Regions from separate parts of the Homo sapiens genome. Here all the other regions are linked to region 2. Evidence: promoter capture Hi-C in 16 types of primary human blood cells and fetal thymus (Javierre and others, 2016). All regions are on one chromosome and are shown on one strand. The core of a region is centred on a gene start or on the middle of the fragment in contact, and the rest is flanking DNA. Distances in the headings are between cores, read along the strand shown.

Region 1 (4,131 bases), core at 259-2,758, 150 kb before region 2:
CCCCCATGATTCAAGTATTTTCACCTGGTCCCTCCCAGGACATGTGGGTATTATGGGAACGACAATTCAAGATGAGATATGGGTGGGGACACAGCCAAACCATATCAGGTAGAATATTCAAATCTATAGAGACAGAAAGCAAATGGGTTTTGGCCAGGTGCTGGGAGTGTGGAGCAGCTGAGAAGTGACTGCTCACAGGTACATGGTTTTATTAGGGATGATGAAAATGTTTTGAAACTTGTACTAAACATACTAAATGCCATTGAATTGTACACTGTATAAAATGTTGAATTTTATGCTATATGAATTTCATCTCAATTTTTTAAATAAAAAGAGGAATCAAATGTGATTATACATACATATGTGTGTGTTGCATCCTTGTGTGTCTATTTATATAGATAAATAATCTTACATCTCTAGAAGGGAGAATGTACTTTTTCTATATCCCTTAAACATTTAAAGGAATTTACCATGAAATCCTTGTGTCCAAAAATAAAAAGAAATTTTGTTGATCAGGATTCAATAATATTAGAAACAGCTAATAAAAATAGGACCAAAAGTTATATATATATATATATGTTAAAAAACGTGCTCCCAGCTGAACTTGAATCATGGGGGTGGTCAGAATAAAGAGTGCAGACTAAAAGAAAAGCAACCCAAAGGGGAGCACTTCATAACAACATCAGAAAATGAAGGAAGTAAGGAAGGACTCAGCTGTAAACTCCAGAAAACAGAAGAAATAAGGAAGAGAGAATTGGTAAAAATAAAAGATGAGGCCAGGCATGGTGGCTCATGCCTGTGATCCTAGCACTTTTGGAGGCCAAGGTGGGAGAATCACTTGAGGCCAGGAGTTTGAGAACACCTGGGTAACATCGTGAGACCTTATCGCTACAAAAAAATTTAATTTAAAGATAAAATTATTAAAACATAAAATAGAAATAAAAATAAGAGAAGATAGTCACAGGAGAGAGAAAAATAATTATAGGTGAAAGCTAAATATACACCCATGGCACAAATTTCAAAATCTAGATGAAATGAATGATTTCCTAGAAAAAAATAAATTATAAAACTTCATACAAATGAAGTGGAAATGTTGAATAGAAAACCACCATAGAAGAGACTGAGAATGTGATAGGAAATCTCCCCTTGAATAAGGCACCAGAGCCAGGTAGGATCAATAAACAAATCATTCTGGTGCTATTTAAACTATGTCAACCTACATAAAAAGGGAAAATTTTCCTATTCATTATAACAAGTCAGCAGCTCTAACACCCAAATTGTATAAAAGAAATATAAGAAATCTATACACCAATTTTACTTCTGAATATAGATGTAAAAATTCTAAATAAAACATTAGTGAAACAAATCAGTAATGTTTCAAAAAATGGTACACTATCAAGCAGGGTTTATTCCAACAATGAAAAAGTGGCTTAATATCAGGAAAACCTAAGAAATAAAAGCATTATTTTATTAGCACAAGCTGAAAATGCAGTTAACCAAATTTATCAGTTGTTCTTAATAAAAACTCCAGGAACCAAGGAAAACTACTTAATAAAGATGGTCCACCAAAATTAACAGCAAGTATTATTTTGAACTACAAAACACTAACATCATTTTAATTAAACCATTAACTACAGAGGGATACTCATTCTCACCATTATTCAACATTGTCTTGGAAGTTGTAGTGAATGCAATGAAATAAGAACATGGAATAATTTCTATAAGCATTGTGATATGGTTTGGCTCTGTCCCCACCCAAATCTCATCTTGAATTATAGCTCTCATAATTCCCACGTGTTGTGGGAGGGACCCAGAGGGAGATAATGGAATCATGGGGTGGTTTCCCCCATTCTGTTCTCATGGTAGTGAATAAGTCTCATGAGAGCTGATGGTTTTATAAGGGGAAACCCCTTTCACTGGGTTCTCATTCTTCTCTTGTCTGTCGCCATGTGAGATATGCCTTTCACCATCTGCCATGATTGTGAGACCTCCCCAGCCATGTGGAACTGTGAGTCCATTAAACCTATTTCTTTTGTAAATTTCCCAGTCTTGGGTATGTCTTTATCAGCAGCATGAAAATGGACTAATAAATATTGGAGGCAGAGATAAAATAACCTCTGCTCAGAATGATACAATTATATATAGAAAACCAATAACCTATTAAGGAGGCAACACCGTAGAGACAGAGAGCAAATCAGTGCTTGTCTAGACTGGAGTTGGGAATGAGGAAATGCAAACTGGATTGGAGTGATGTTTGTGTAACTCTGTAAATTTACTGAAAGTTATAAGTTGTACATTTTAAATGAGTACATTTTTTAGTAGGTAAATTATGCCTCAATAAACTTGTTATAAAAATCTTCTGGGTGGAATAAGAACATTTAAGATGGATGAATGTGATATTAAATAAAACTACTCTTTTTCTTAAAAAGTTTCAAAAATTTAGGAATGTACTTATAAGAAAAGTATAGAAACTATAAAGAAAATTAATAAACCTTATTGAAAGGCATAAAGCAAGAACCGAACTAATAGAAAACAACCATAATCTTGAATGGGAAAACTGAATAGCATCAAAATGCCAATTGTTCTAAAATTAATATTAAAAATCAGTGCAATTCTAGCAAGAATCCCAACAACATTTTTCTCTCCATTGGTTAAGATGATCTTAAAGTTTATGGGGAAAAACAGATACCAAGGATGGCAAATGAAAGTTATAAAATAGATCAATAACAATGAGAAGATTTGCCTAACTAGGAACAAAGGCATAGGGTAAAACCGTAGTCATTGAGACAATATGGCCTTAATGTAGGAAGAGACAAATGGGTCAATGAAACAGCAAGTAAGATCCTAATATACATACATATATATGTGTATGTGTGTATACACAGACGTAGAATTTTCACATATGACAGAGATCGTTGTTCAATTTTGTGGGAAAATGGGAAATTGTTTAATGAACGGTACTGGCACAACCAGCTGTCCATTTGCAAAACAATTACATTGGACTCTCATCTTATACCATATACAAAATTAAATTCCAAATATACTAATGACTTAAACTTAAGAAGCAAAATAATGGAAATACTGCAAGAAAAAATCTATAAGATTACATGACCACCCTAGAGGGCAAGAAAGAACTTATTAATTAATACTGGAAACCAAGAGGTTAATTTTTTTTTAAAAGAAAAATACCAGAATGAAAGAGTTCCCTGACCCACTTGCAGGATGTACAACAGGGGTGTGGCTCATCTGTTCAGCCGCTGCCACTACTCAGACCCCTTACAGGAGGGGGAGCATGCAGATGGGCAGGTGCAGGAGCCAGGGTGAGTGCTTTTGGGCTTAAGACCCACAGTGGCATCTAGGGATGTTTGCCTAGACATGTGGAGTGACTCTCAAAGCCCCAGTGGGCATGGTACAGTGCTCTTTTAGCCCTACTGTCTGCAGACAGCTTAAGTGTTAACCAGCTCAGTGCCTTCTTGGTACCCAGGTCCTTGTCCAGCATCTAGGAAGAATCAGGTCACACATGGACTTGAAGGATGGTGAATGTGGGGATTTTACTGGGTGATGGAGGTGGCTCTCAGTGGGATGGATAGGAAGCTGGAGAGGGGATGAAGTGGGAAGATGATCTTCCCCTGGAGTTTGGCCGTCCAGTGGCTGATCTTCTCTCTGACAGTCCCCAGCTGAACTCTAGATGTTCAGATGCTCCTTCTCTTCTCTCCTTCTCTGCCTCACTGTTCTGCCACTTTTCTGCTCTTCTTTTCATCTGCTCTTGGAGTCCAGAGTTTAGGGTTTATATGGATACCAGATAGGGGGACATGGCAGGCCAAAAGGCAACTTTTGGGCATGAAAACAGGGCTGCCTGTTCCCATTTAGGGCCTCGGGTTTCTAGGCTTGAGGGTAGGGCCTTTGCTGGGGAGCCGCCCTCTTCTACCCAGTATTTCCCTGTCGCCTGTCCATATCACCTCCCCCCCTCTCAAGAGGCATATCTAACTGCCCTTAGAATATGGACGACGACCAGTCTTAGCTACTTCCTGCTGACAAGGGGCATTGTTTGGAGAAAATGACAGTCTGAGTCCTTCCAGAGGTCTATGTAAGGGTCCCCAGCAAAAGGAAGCCATTGTCCGAGGCTTCGGT
Region 2 (3,779 bases), core at 1,040-3,539:
TCCAGGCTACAGCATCTCCCAGCTTGATTCCCTATCGTCCTACAGAGTCTGGGGGCACCCCCATGTCCTTTTCTCCCCCAAGTGGCTATAGTTGCTTTCTGTTGTTTATTCCCGAGAGCCCAGACTGATATACCTTCTTTGAGGAGGAAAATACGAAATCTGAAATACGAATTTCTCCTTTAAGAAGATTGTTAGCTTTTCCCAAAATGTTTGATTATGAACATTTTCAAGCTTCAAACATACAGAAATGTTGGAAGGATTTTGAAGCAGACATCCACATGCCCACTGCCTGGGCTGGACAGCTCACAGGCCACTACGATTCACCACACAGCCAGCCAGCCACCATTGCTCCACCAATCATGCATCTGATTTTAAAAATTAGCTTTTAATCAGCAAATGGTATTTCTAGTTAGACCTGTTAGGCTAAGACTAAAAGTTCCAAATCAGGTCACGTTTTCTAGGTGGTTTTCTTTCTAACCTTGTAAGCTACCAAGAGCAAAAACAAAGGCCAGAACACACAAACTGACAGATAACTTGCCTTTATTATGAAGTACACCTTTGGACTTGTGGGGTTTTTTTCCCAAAGCTTGTGCATCATTGTCTGGGATAACTGCATAAAATGGAAGGACGATTCCTGGTGAGAGGCAGTGTGTTCTAGGTAAGAGCAAAGCTGGAATCCGCTGTCTCACTGTGTCCCTGCTCTGTCCACACCGGCAACTCATGCAAAGGCAGGGTGATCATGCAGGTGAAATGGGTGGATTGGTGTCAAGTGCGTGGAACAGTACCTGGCACATAGAAAACACTCTGTAAGGTTCATGGGGAGATTCACGACTGTTCATAAACTGATCTGTTGATGACAATGAATGGGCAGGAGCCTGGGTACCTTTGTTCTCTTTGGGTCACTTATGTTCTAGCTTCCTAAAAGTCTCATTAGAGCACCTTGTATTTAGATAAACCATTACAAAAACACTTACTTTTCTACTTGAGTCACCAGTTTATGAAGTGCTTCTTGTGGTTTGCTAAAACCTAAATCGGAGGGACAGGTTTTTGTTCTGCTTTGATGGTTTGTAGGGAGATAAGGCTGCAGAGGTAGGCTGGGGCCGGGTCATTGAGGACTTTGAATGTCAGTGTAAGGAGCCTCTCTCCTAAGGGTAAAGGGACAACTTGTCTTTCAGCACATTTGACAATAGCAGCTGTAACGAACACACACGTGCACACATGCACACACACACACTACATGTGCACACATGTGCACATGCACACATGCACAAATCACATATGTGGCTTAACACAATACAACATTCTTCCTCCCTTGTGCAAAGCCCACTGTGGATATTGCAAGTTGGGACACTATTCTACCAGCGAAGATTCAGGGATCCCTGCTCCTTCCATCTTGGGAGCTCCTCCTCACTCCCACCCCCAGCTCCAATGGAGTTCCTGTTGTGGATGTGGTCTTCCCACCCACTACACCGGCCTTAGGCAGAGCCTGGCACAGCTGGGATCCTCACTGGGACTACATTGCTGGGCTGCAGACTGCTCCAGAGTCCCCCCAGAAGCCCCTAAATGTCCCTGAAAAGATGAGTCACTGACTGTGCTTTCAGCTCCAAGCAGCCTTTATCAATCTCTCAATCCCCATAGATACTGGGAAAATCTAGGAACATGTTCAGAACTCAAAGAGGGGTCTTCTGCTGCTGCTTTTTGTGGGGAGACAGGATCCCTGAGCTGGGGGACCAGACATCCTGGTGCCCCTGGCTTCAAGCAGCTGGTGGATCTGCGCGCTCAAAACTTGCCCTGGTCTGTATGGCCTCATCCTCTCGCTTGTCCCACTATGATGGATCTCGCTCGCTCCGTAGAGCAGTGGCTTTGCAACCCTAGCCAGCACTGGGGTCGCGCGTGGACTTGTCAGGACACACATTGCTGGGCTCCACCCCGAGTTTCTGATTCTGGGGCGAGGATTGAAAACTTGCTTTTCTAACGAGTTCCCAGCATTTTCGATGCTGCTAGTCCTGAGACCATACTTTGAAAACCGCCCCTCTAGAAAGTGCGATCCCTCCCCAGGAAAGAAGCAGGGCTATTTTTGCTCCAAAAGTATCCATCCTGCACGCCCTCTTCAGTGCTTGGCACGTGGCGAATAAACCAATCAGGATGAAAGGAGCCAACCCAAGTGCGGAGTGTTGAACCTCAGAGGAAGAAACCCGCGTTCACCAGGCCCAGGCCTGGGCCAGGCGCTGTCCTGGCGGCGTCAGGGAGGACATCGTGCCCAGAGCTCGGACCCAGCAGCCCGGCCCCGCGCCCTCCCTGTCCCGCGGCCCGCAGGCCCAGCCCTCAAGCGCCCAGCCTCCGCGGCCTTTGTGGCGTCACAGCCAGCCTGAAGAATGGTTGCCTTGGAGACGTAAACCCAAGAGCCCTGCTCCTGGAGCTGAGAACTGCAGCGCGGAGGCTTCGGAGCGAGCCGGGGCAGTCGGGGTCGGTGGGTGCGCTCGCGGTCCGGGGAGAGGGGGCGCGCGGGGTCCGTGAGGGCGCGTGGGGGCGGCGGCAGGGGTGCGAAACCAGGGCCCGAGGGGCGCGCGTGGCCGGGAGCGGACTTGCAAGGCGCCTTCCAAGGCTGCCCGCTCGCATGCCACTTGCTTGAAACACACCCATCTACCATCCACCCCATCTGTCCTACCATCCCTGTGCACCTCGCTGTGTGGCTCGGGGCCTTGCAGAGCGCGGGTGTTAGGAGGCGACCCTGCGAACCCCAGGCTCACCCAATAGGGGGCTGCAGCAGGAATGCGGCAGGAATGGCACAAGCTTAGAGTGGGGGCCCTTTCCAGAGGCAGCCCCTCCTGACTGTGACTTTGGACACCTCGCTGAATCTCTGCTTCCTCCCCTGCAAAAATGAAAATTCATTCAATGGATGAAGTTAAGAAGTGCCAAGGGTATGTCAGGAGCTTGGATGAGCAGAAAAGACCCCCCTGTTCTCATGGAGCTCACATTTTAGGGGGAAATAGACAACGAATGGATTTTTAAAGTGATAATCAGATAGTGGGAATTGCAGAGAAGAAAATAAAGGCCACATGGGGGTGGGGAGGAAGAAACCACTTTGGATGGGATGGTGAGAGGTCTCTCTAAAGAGGTGACATTTGAGCTCGGAATTGAAGAGAAGGAAGCCCAGCACCCCCAGCTGGGTATGGGAGAATATTTTTTGGCCGAGGAGGCCGAAAATGCAAAGGCTTGAGGCCAAGATTGATGTGTTCTAAGCACAGAAAAAGTAGGCAGCTAGAGCCAAGTCCAGGAGGTGAGAGTGGACCCTCGGGTGGGAGAGGCAGGGAGCCGGCAGGTGTCCCCACAAGGTGAGCCCTCAGCAAATGTCGGTGGCTGTCAGCCACCCAGGGGGAAGGAAGCTCTGGGCTTGGGGACCACCAGGCTCAAGCACTGTGTCACTCCTCAGGTGAGGATCTCCTTTAGAAGAGGAGAAGCCTTGCATCAACCTCTTGGGCCTCAGCCAAGATGTCTGAGATACCGTCCACTATAGTCTCCAAGAACATGACCAATGACAGTAAGTACCGGGCCAGGGTGGGCACTCTCAGAGGTCAGGGGCAGCTTCGGAGCCTGTCCAGCTCCCTCACAGGTTAAGGTAGCTCTAAACCAAACACTAGGCAGGAGTCATAGATCTGCCTACTTCCCTTGAAACAAGGCATATGGATTGCCTGCAGCTGCTGTAACAAAGCACCACCACAAACTGGGGGGCTGGAGTCACAGACATTTGTTTTCTCAAGCTCTGGGGGCTGGATGTC
Region 3 (3,970 bases), core at 1,333-3,832, 130 kb before region 2:
AGCTGCACTTCCTGTGATGGGTGCTGCTGACACTTCCCCCACCCCCAGTCTGTGTGCCCCTCCCACTTGCACCTTGGTGTGAAAGGCCCCAGGTCCTCCTCTCCTCTGCCCTCAACAACCCATGGGCTTTTCTGTGTTTGCCAGTCTGGTGAGTAGCAAGTGACACAATAATATAATTTATGGTTTTAGTTCCTTGGTACTGGGGAAGTTGAGGGTAGTTTCATCTGTTCATATTGCTTCAATAACCAGAAAAATGTACAAAGATATCTACATTTTGAAATTAAAAGGTATCAAAAAGAAACAGGCTTTGAGAATCCCTGTGCCTCCACACTCCACACAGGGGGAAATTCAGCCATTTGTGCATCCTTTACTTGGGTTGGAGAAGGTTTTTCTTTTGTTCTTAATCTCAGAATTCCAGATGTCAGACCTGGAAGAGCATAAAGACCTCCTCGCTGAAAGCCCCACTTTATGCATGAAGAAGTGGGGCCCCCGGGAGGGCGCGGCCTGGCTGGTCTCACAGTGGCAGGTCCCAGCATCATCTGCTGAGGGGAAAGGGCTCTTCTCCAAGACTGGACAAAGCTTGCAGCCCCCAAGCACCCCAGGGACTGGTGTCTCCTGGTGCCTATCTAATGGCCTTCAGGTCCTGCACGGGCCCCACAGCCTGACCAGCGGGGGGCAGTGGAGGGCTGCTGATGGCCCCAATCCCGGTCTTCTGGAAACTCTTGCAGATGGGGTCGGGGGATACGGCCGTGCCCCCATGGCTCAGGTTCTAAGACGGGGCACAGACAACCCAAAACCACTAGAAACGCCTTAATAACTTGCCACACAGAGAGCGATGGGCCTCGCAAAGTCAACGCTGTTGGGTTTTCCTCCACCCTTGGATCGGATCGCTGTTTATGTAGCTCAGCGGAGAATTTCAGGACCTTGTTGCGTGAGCCATACCTATTTTTACACACTAGCGTCAGCCTCAGGGTGACAGTGGAGATCCAGGACGGAGACCTACTGTGGGGCAGGAGGTGCCAGGTTTCCATCCGTTGTGGCAGAGCACCTAGCATGAGTGCCACATCTCCCTCCTCCCTCCTCCCTCCTCCCCTCCTCCTTTTCCCCTCTTCCTCCCTCCTCCATTCTTCCCCTCTCCACCTCTTCCTCTCCCTCCCCCTTCCCTCTCCACATCTCCTTCCTCTTCCTCTCCTACCTCCCTCCTCCCTCCTCTATTCTTCCCCTTCCTCCCTTCTCTTCCCCCTCCCTCCCCCTCTTCCCTCTCTACATCTTCCTCTTCCCCCTCTGTTCTTCTTCCTCCTCTTCCCCATCCTCCCTCTAGCCCCTTCCCTCTCCACATCTTTTTCTTCCTCCTCCCCATCCCTCCTCGCTTCTTTCTCTTCACCTCTTCCCCCTCCCCCTCTTCCTTCTCCCCTCCTCCCTGTCCTCCTTTCCCTCCTCCTAACCCTAATCCAAGACTAACCTTAACCCAAACCCTCCTTGTCCTCCTCTCCCTCCTCCTAACCCTAATCCAAGCCTAACCTTAACCCAAACCCTCCTTGTCCTCCTCTCCCTCCTCCCTTCCCTCTTCCCTCTCCTCCTCCCCCCATCTTCTTCCCCTCCTCCTCCTTCCCCTCCTCCTGCCTAACCTCCTCCCTCCTGTAATCTTCCCCTTCCTCTCTCCTCTTCCTCCCCTTCTTCTCCCCCTCTCCCTCCCCCTCTTTCCTCTCCACATCTCCTCCTCCCCTACCCCTCTCTTTCTTCCTGCCTCCCCTTCCTCTATCCCCCCTTCCTTCTTCTTCCCTTCCTCCCTGTTCTTCTCCCACTCCTTCTCCCGTTTCCCCCTTCTTCTCCCCCCTCCTCCCCACCCTTCTTTCCTCTCTTCATCTTCCTTCTCCTCTCCTTCCTTCCCTCTTCTTTCTCCCCATCTCTTCCCCCTTCCCCTCTTCCTCCCCCTACTTCCCCTTCTTTCTTCTCCCCCTCCTCTCCTCTCCCTTCTCCCCCTCCTCCCTCCCTCCTCTTCCTTCTCCCCCTCCTCCTCCTTTTCACTGGTCTCTCCTGGGCTCTCAGGGTGTGAGTTTTATGTCTTCCTTTTCCTCTGAATCTTAGACTGTCTGTGTGTATAACTGATTGTGACCCAGTTCAATGTGTGGCTGATGCAAAGCCCCTGTGTGTGCGCCCTCCCTGGTGGCCCTTTCATCTCATTGCACAATGCAGAGTGGAGTTGCATCATCTCAGTGGCCCGGCCAACACAAAACTCAGCACACCCCAGGGCTTTCTGCTGCCTCTTGAGTAACTGTTCTCTGGCGGGCAAGGTGGGGCTGGGGGGTCTGAGACCCTCCTGCCAAGAGCAAGGCCCAAGCTGTCAGAGCTTTCTTTCCAGCCACTAGCATGTGGCCACCGCCACTTCCTCTCGTGCCCCCCTCACTCCCGCCAAGCCCAGCTTGGGCCACCCTGTCTCAGAGCCAGGGGCTCCCAGGCAAGGCCCCAGCAGAAAAGGCCCATGAAGATCGGCTCTCCATAGCTTCTCTAGGATGAGCCCTCTGGACCCCCAAGCTGAATGCCCCCAAATCCAGGCCTGTGCTCAAAATATAAGGCAAAATAAAATAAAATAAGCTAGAAGATGTTCACATTTCAAACTTAGATTTGTTTCCACAAACCAAAGACCTATATGCAGTGAGGATGAGTTTTAGCCCACAAAGGTGCGCATGTCATTTTAATGCAATTTGTTGCTCAAATTAATCTGTCTCCGTTTTCTATTTTAATTTAACCAAAATCCCAGTCAGTTCAGGGACCTCCACCCCTTTTCCTGAGCCCGTGTCCCAGCTGGCTTATCTACTGCCGAGGCGTGTCCTTGCCCTAGCATCTGCTGACAATATTGTCATTCCCTTCAGCTGTCGTTGTAGATGGAGTCTGCTTTTCCTTTCTACCCAGCATCACCTGATGAGTCCAGCCCTCTCCAAGCTAACATTGCACTCTCTCTCTTGTGTTTGAGAAACACTTTGCTGTTGGTTCACTTCTCCTCCCTGTGGGAAACAGAATACAGCCCCTCAGCAATGTCCATGTCTTGATCTCCCTAACCTGGGAATATGTCACCTTACATGGCAAAGGGAGATAAAATTTGCAGGCGGCATTAAGGTTGCCAAGCAACTGACTTTAAGGTAGGCAGATCATTCTGGATGACCCGGGTGGACACAAGGTCCTTAAATATGAAAAAGCAGGGCAGGCGAGCCAGTGGAAATGAGGTGATGTGGAGGAAGGGGCCAGAAGCCAAGGAGTACAGGCAGCCTCTAGAAGGGAAAAAGGGAAGGAAACAGAGCTTCCAGGGGGGAATGCAGCCCTGTCAACAACTTGATTTCAGCCCAGTGAGACCCACCGCAGACCTCTGACCTCCAGAATCATTAGAGAGTGGGTGTGTGTTGTTTGGAGCCACTAAGTTTGTGGCTATTTGTTACTGCAGCAGCAGGAAACTAATGCACTCCCCATTTTACAGATGAGTAGACTGAGGCTCAGAGAGGACAGCGAAGTTGTCTAAAGTCACAGAGGAGATAGATGACAGAGTTTCCTTCAAGGTGTGGCCAGGGCAGCATGCAGTGCACAGGTCGGCTGCACACACTAGGCCTGGGATTTAGCCTCATCTGCAGACCACACAGAGGGCTTACCATCAGCATCTCAAGGTTTAACCATAGGTCAACCAAAATTGAAAAGGCAGCACCCTTTCAGATCTCCCCCACCCATTGCACTGAATAACCAAGTGGACAAAGCATCTAGAAATGATGTAAGCCTAAATGCATATTTTGCAGGGGAAGGGAATTGGGTGTGTATTGAACACTTCACCTTCGTTTCAGATCCCCGTAAGCATTTCCTAACTCCCTTGGTACCATCGAATGTTTCCTACTCCCTCCAGGCAGTACTAGCCCCCTTTGTCTCTCCTCCTCCTTCTCTTCCTCCTCCTCTTCCTCCTCTTCTTCCTCAGGAGGAGGAACTTCCC

Evidence for each region. The method cuts DNA at HindIII sites, captures the fragments that hold promoters and counts their contacts. A CHiCAGO score of 5 or more calls a contact.
Region 1: a fragment that was not itself captured here is called in contact with the fragment with the promoter of CFAP100-DT in region 2 in 1 of 17 cell types (M2 macrophages); the score reaches 5.7 in M2 macrophages.
Region 3: a contact is called between a fragment that was not itself captured here and the fragment with the promoter of CFAP100-DT in region 2, in 3 of 17 cell types (endothelial precursors, megakaryocytes and M2 macrophages). The highest score is 10.7, in endothelial precursors.

The regions. Positions count from the first base shown.
Region 1 is chr3:126,240,070-126,244,200 of GRCh38, forward strand. All of the region lies in intron 1 of LOC124909426 (a long non-coding RNA gene), which reads left to right. Among named protein-coding and RNA genes, the nearest start is that of ALDH1L1, 62 kb to the left of the region's middle. The HindIII fragment of the contact is 5,873 bases long and covers 1-4,131 here.
Region 2 is chr3:126,392,509-126,396,287 of GRCh38, forward strand. CFAP100-DT (CFAP100 divergent transcript) reads right to left here and starts at 2,290. Exons shown (of 2, transcript NR_103789.1): 1 at 1,791-2,290; 2 at 524-785. It overlaps CFAP100 (cilia and flagella associated protein 100), which reads left to right and starts at 2,401. Exons shown (of 17, transcript NM_182628.3): 1 at 2,401-2,470; 2 at 3,434-3,541. The coding sequence starts at 3,493. The HindIII fragment of the contact is 2,207 bases long and covers 585-2,791 here.
Region 3 is chr3:126,258,966-126,262,935 of GRCh38, forward strand. No RefSeq gene overlaps it. Among named protein-coding and RNA genes, the nearest start is that of ALDH1L1, 80 kb to the left of the region's middle. RefSeq lists an enhancer at 1-168. The HindIII fragment of the contact is 4,010 bases long and covers 578-3,970 here.